Linked DNA regions of Homo sapiens: region 1 is linked to region 2. Evidence: promoter capture Hi-C in human tissues and cell types (Jung and others, 2019). All regions are on one chromosome and are shown on one strand. Each heading gives the region's core, a stretch centred on a gene start or on the middle of the fragment in contact. The rest is flanking DNA. Distances are from core to core; before and after follow the strand shown. Region 1 has its middle 97 kb from the start of LINC02272. Region 2 holds the start of GLRB (glycine receptor beta).

Region 1 (2,846 bases), core at 347-2,846, 530 kb before region 2:
TGGAAAGGAGTATTTCAAACTGTGAGAACAGAAAAGACTTAAGGGAGGCACATGCTTAGCGTGTGCAAGGAACAGAAAAAAAAAACAACTGAAGGGTAGGGATAAATGGGGTACAGCAATCAAGGGGAGAGTACAGGACAATAAAACCAGAGAAGTACCAGCAGAAGGACCCTAGAGGTCATGGTACAGACTGGGATTTTACTTTGAATGAGACAGAATGTCTTGAAAAATATTGTAGAATACCTCTGCCTTTAGGGTGCCAAAAAGATCATAGGGAGCATGAGTAGAAGCAGAAAAACAGGTTAAAAGATTTCAGTTTAGGTACAGATAACGGTGGCCTAGAATGGGGTTGTTTATGCTAGCTTTTGTGTACACTTCCAAAACCAAACAAGCAAATCATGGAGAGCTGAGAAGAGTGGATGAATTATATATGAGTTGTGACAGAAAGAGAGGAGTCAAGGATGACTCCAAAAGTTTATGGCTTGAGAAAATGGAAAAATGAATTTGCAATATTATGGATGAAATCGAATTGTAGGAAATTTTAAACTTCAGAAATATTAAGTTTGTGAAGGCTATTAAGCATTCAAATGAGAATGTCAAAGAGGGAGTTGGATTCAAGAAGCTTCTTCACTAAACTCCTCTTTTCTTTCCAAAATTAAGCTCATGTATCTTAATGCAAAATTATAATATGTGACTGATGAGACTAAGCTTTGTTCAATGAAAGCCCATATTTCAATAGCTGTTATTAGAATATTATATGTTAAACTGTGTTTATAATTGAAATGTCTTCAGTTTTCCATTTTAGGAAAGGGTTTTCTAACAGAAGTTGGTTGCGTAAGCTTTTGAGGCAAACTCTTTTCTGAAAGCCAAAATATCATCTAAAACCATCTCTATGAACTGGATCTTCATATTAATCCTCTTCACAGATAGAGAATTTACGTTGTGTTACTGAATGCCAGATGTAAGGCTGGCACACTTTCCCTGTCAACAATGATTATTGTCATTTAATTCGGTATTTATTCTGAGACTTGCTCTGTGAGCAGTTCTCACAGGGAAAACTCTTAATGTCACAGACCTACTGCTCTGGTGTTATACACTTCCTGAAAATTCACATAGGTCTGGGCCCTGTGTTTCCTTCCTAATCCCCTTATGCTAGGCTAAGAGAGTATTTTCCAGAAACTGTTTATAAGGTCTGTAACTTCTGTGCCTGTGTTTCTCAAACTTATGTTTCTTGGAGTGCCTTTGTTTTAATTGGAGACCATTTTAGGGCTTGAGCAACTTCTCTTAGAGCTACTTGCTGCTGTGGTTTGTCTTACATTTGTAGGCTTGCTGTCAGCCAAGATGTCAGAACTAGTGGTCCCAAGGCAATATGCTGCTGAAACATTCTCCCACTTTCTTGTTTACAAATCTTCTCCTTCCACTTGACACAGTGCAGTTATGTGTTTCTCATGGTTTTGTTCATGTTTCTTATATGAATGACCTGGTTGGCATAGCTGCTTTCAATAAAATAGAGTAGTCTACATGAGACACCCAACGTCAGACTGGCTTGCTACTTTAATTCCCATTGCAGCCATCAAAATGAAAACATGTCTGTCGGCCAGAGGAAATCAACAAACATACAATAGGAAAGCAAAATATTTTCTCTACTATTTTCTCTTCACTTGGAAATAGAAAAGGAGGTTATAACTTGCTAATCTCTGTGGCTCTGTTGTAACAACTGAATCACTCTCTGGGGAGACACAGACTCCTGTTGGAGAAACACTGTGATAATCAATGGTTTAAATGTCCTTAGCTGACTGAAATGAAGAACAATCAGCCATTCCAACTTTGCTGTTTCCTGAAGGTTCCTTGCTTCTCAATCCTTAATGCTTTTGCAGTTGAAGTTATCCCTAATGGTTCATCCTTCCCTTTCACCTCTCTACTTCCTTCTTTTTGATCAAGCATCAGCTGAATTCTCATCTACTCTGGGACATTTGTCTTACTGCTCTGCTTCAATCTGACATGCTGTGTATTGAATAACCTGACCCTGAGAAAGTCTGCTACACATATGCCTTCATCTACACTTCCTGTGCACAGATTCTTGTCAGTCATGGTCAAATTCTGGACCATGTGGCTATAATATGCTTTTATTTTTTCAACCCAGCCATACAATTAGACCAGGGGTATGCACAAGGCTCAAAGGCAGCCAAAACATCAGTTTTACAAGGATCCTTGATGTTCCAATGAATGTGAAATGTTAAATGGGACTATCAGACTCTTCTCTACAATTTTTAATAAAAGAAATACAGAGAGGTGAGGTGATTGACAAAGCTCACTCAAGAAGTACTTTATGTTATAAAAAAAGACCCAGAAGGGCCTTGATGGACCATGATAAGACAAAGTTTTGAAAAAGCAGAAATAAGAGAAGAAGCTTATTTGCAGATAGAGAAGAGAGTGGACTTGATGTACAGAAAGAACCAAAAACAGTCCAGGTGCAGTGGCTTATGCCTGTACTCCCAGTAATTTGGGAGGCCGAGGCTAGAGGATCACTTGAGTCTAGGACTTCAAGACCAGATGGGCCAACATGGCAAAACCCCATCTCTATGAAAACTGCAAAAATTAGCTCGCTGTGGTGTCGTGTGCCTGTAGTTTTAGCTACTCAGGAGGCTGAGGTGGGAGGATCACCTGAGCCTGGGGAGGTGAAGGCTGCAGTGAACCATGATTTTGTCACTGCACTCCAGCCTGGGTGACAAAGTGAGACTCTGTCTCAAAAATAATAATAATAAAAAAAACTAAACAGAGCTCACTGTGGAGAGATGGAGATAGATGGGGCAGCCAAGTCCAATTCCAATTCCAGGAGATGTGAT
Region 2 (2,936 bases), core at 364-2,863:
CGCCAACTTCTAAACTCCCCTGGCTGCATGAAAACTAATTCCTTTATCATTCTTCATATGACCTATTCACCAAAAGTTATATCTTATGAAACGTATATTATCAATATAGTTCTCTCTAATAAAGCATTAAAATCCAAAGTTATATCCTGATCCACTTTGGCGGGGGGGTCTTCAAACAGTACAGCTCTTTGAATAATGATCATTTTGTAATGTAAATAAGGTAATGATCACTTATTAATGATCACTACTCTTAGGCAGCAGAATATCTCATGAAGCTTATGGAACACGGTTATATGCAGGAAATATTCCTTCCCTCCATATGCTGCGGGTGGAAAAATTTATTAGTGGATACATCTGTGGGTCCACAATACAATGCTAAGTGATGCTCACTTGAGACAATGCTTTTTTAATAAAAAAAATCCATCAGGACCTGGTGCAGTGGGGTGGGGTGGCTCAAGCCTGTAAGCCCCCCAGCTTGGGAGGCTAAGGCAGGCGGATGGCTTCAGGCCAGAGTTGGAGACCATCCTGGACAACAAAGCCAGAGATGCTGTCTCTTAAAAAATAATAATAATAATTAGTGGAGCGCAATGGCCTGTCTGTTGTTCCAGCTACTCTACTAGGGAGACCGAGACAAGAGGATCTCTTGATTGCCCAGAAGTTCAAGACTGCGGTGAGCGATGACTGTGCCTCTGCACTCCAGCCTGGGCAACAAAGTGAGCTCCTGTTGCTTAAAAAATAACAATTAAAAAAAATCAATCAGGCATACATTCAAGAGGTAATAGGATAGCCTTATCTGTTATCTAAGGGCTGCATATCCAAGTAAGGGCTACTTCTTCACAAGGATGAGGACAACAGTATTTTGCTCTTATAAGGCAGAGACCCTGTCTGGTTCAGATATGCAAAAATCACTAATTTTGAATCTCTGGTAAATTTCTTTCAAGATCTGTAACTCTAAGTAAATCTCTTAATATAACTGAGTTTCAGATTCTTCATCTACAGAAGGGGATGACAAAACTTGCCCAGGAATGTGGTGAGGGCCACATGAGATAAGGCGAGTGAAAGGTGTTTTGCAACTGTCAAGTTCTGTACACATGTTAATTATGTAACAGATGTTAAACATAGTATTACCTGTATGACTATATTGTCAGTAATTTTGACCAATTTAAGCTTGCTCAGAAAGTTCAGGCTTTTAGAAATTGGAAGACCCGGAGATTAAGCTGGATGTCTGGGTTCCAGGCAAATGGTGAAATGACAGAAAATGTGTTTTGTTCGCTTTGACCCAAGAAGGTCATTTGTTGCTCTGTTGTTTGTTGCTAGTGGTCAAAAGCTGACCCCAAGCAATCCCAGCTCCTTGAAAGGTTTTTTCTTTTTGTACCGACACTATCATTCCCGCCCTTCGTCCCCAACTCCTTTAGTCCCCTAAGGAGTGAGGGGGGTACACATTTCTGCTCGGTAACCCCTCCAATGCCTGAAGGGGACGATGCCGTGACGTTGCTCTGTCGGGACACCTCTTCCCTCCCCCGCCCGCGGTCGCCAGGTTCCCCCGCGGCCCGCGCTGTCCCCGCTGCGGCCCCGACCGCGGCGCGCCACGGCGCAGGCTCCGCGGCCCGAGCAGGCGCGTCAGCCGAGCTCGGCGGTGGCGCGGGCGGCTGGGACGCAGCTGCCCCCGCTCGGCGCCCGCTGCACCCTTAGCAGCCACTGCCACCTGGGCCCGGAGCCTCCACGATCTCGCCCGGCGATTGTGGGCAGGGGCGCCTCCGGGTAAGTGCCAGGAGCTCCACTTAGGAGGAGGGGACGCGGGTTGGGGCGGCGACGGTGGTCTGAGGACGGGAATAGACGCCTTTGCGGAAACAGCGGGTCAAGCCCGGGGCGGCGGAGCGCGAGGAGCACTGCGGCGTGCCCGGGAGGACGCGCGCTGCCCTGCGCGGGAGAGGGGCGCGGGGCGCCTGGCAGCGGCAGCCGGGTCCCCGCTGCGGTGGCGCCCGCGGAGACGCTCCGGGTGGAGAGATGCAGAGGGCCGGGGTAATTAGGAAACGCAAGGTTGGCCAGGAGGGCTCCTTGCGTTGTTTTGTTTATGAGGATCCTCCAGTCAATGCAGCTGTCCCCCTTGAAAGATTGGGGGTGAGGACAGAGCAGAGTGGTGAATTTCTCTGTTTTTCGAAGCGTTAGGGGGGCTCGGCCCTCCTTTTTGCGGGGGCAAGGATGTGAAAGTGGGAGAAGTACCTGCTGCTGTGGGCAAGGTGTCTGGAAGCAGGTGCCGCTGTCGGATGGGGGAAGGGAGCGTCCAATGTTGTGAAGTTGCCAGAGGAGAACCTTGTGTTGTTGCTGTTGGTCTGATGAGCCCCCTCTGTTGTCTTCAATTTAAAGTACCCAGGGAGAAGCCCCTCTGGCTTGCCTGGAGTGTGTGTAAAAGATAAATATGGGGGGAAGAATCCTGGGGGGGGGGGGGGAAGATGAAAAACATGACATAAGGAGAAGCAAATTTCTGAGGGTGAGATGGGAATTAAGTTAGCGTTGAAGAATATGACAGGTCTTTTACTCTGCGGAAAACAATGAAAGAGAAACAATTTATGGTTTGGAAATGAAGGTTGCAGAAGAGTTTGAACTTCTCTAGTGTAGGTAGAGGCTTAATTATTTTTTATTTATCAGAATCTCTGGCAAGAATATGGTTCTGATTTGAGCATGAAAATGTTATTAAAATATGGCTAGGACGATAATTTGAAAAAAATGTAACAACACTTGTTTTATTTCTTGTTGTAGAATTTCTGAAGTAATCTTTTTGATGACAAATGTTAGTAGCAAATAAGTAAGAAAGCTTTAAAGCTAACTTAAGAGGCACCTTTTTGGGGCAAAAAGGTAGCTTGCCAATGTAATGTGTTTAAATAAAAAAAGCAATGAATTTTGAATGTGGAACTCTTTGATATTAACTTTTTCTT

The links. The method cuts DNA at HindIII sites, captures the fragments that hold promoters and counts their contacts. A contact is called where the count stands out against the background at its distance.
Region 1: a fragment that was not itself captured here is called in contact with the fragment with the promoter of GLRB in region 2 in 3 of the 25 tissues and cell types used here (IMR-90 fibroblasts, hippocampus and mesenchymal stem cells).

Annotation. Positions count from the first base shown.
Region 1 is chr4:156,543,863-156,546,708 of GRCh38, forward strand. No RefSeq gene overlaps it. Among named protein-coding and RNA genes, the nearest start is that of LINC02272, 97 kb to the right of the region's middle. The HindIII fragment of the contact is 4,245 bases long and covers 1-2,846 here.
Region 2 is chr4:157,074,537-157,077,472 of GRCh38, forward strand. It overlaps GLRB (glycine receptor beta), which reads left to right and starts at 1,614. Exons shown (of 10, transcript NM_000824.5): 1 at 1,614-1,761. The HindIII fragment of the contact is 3,601 bases long and covers 722-2,936 here.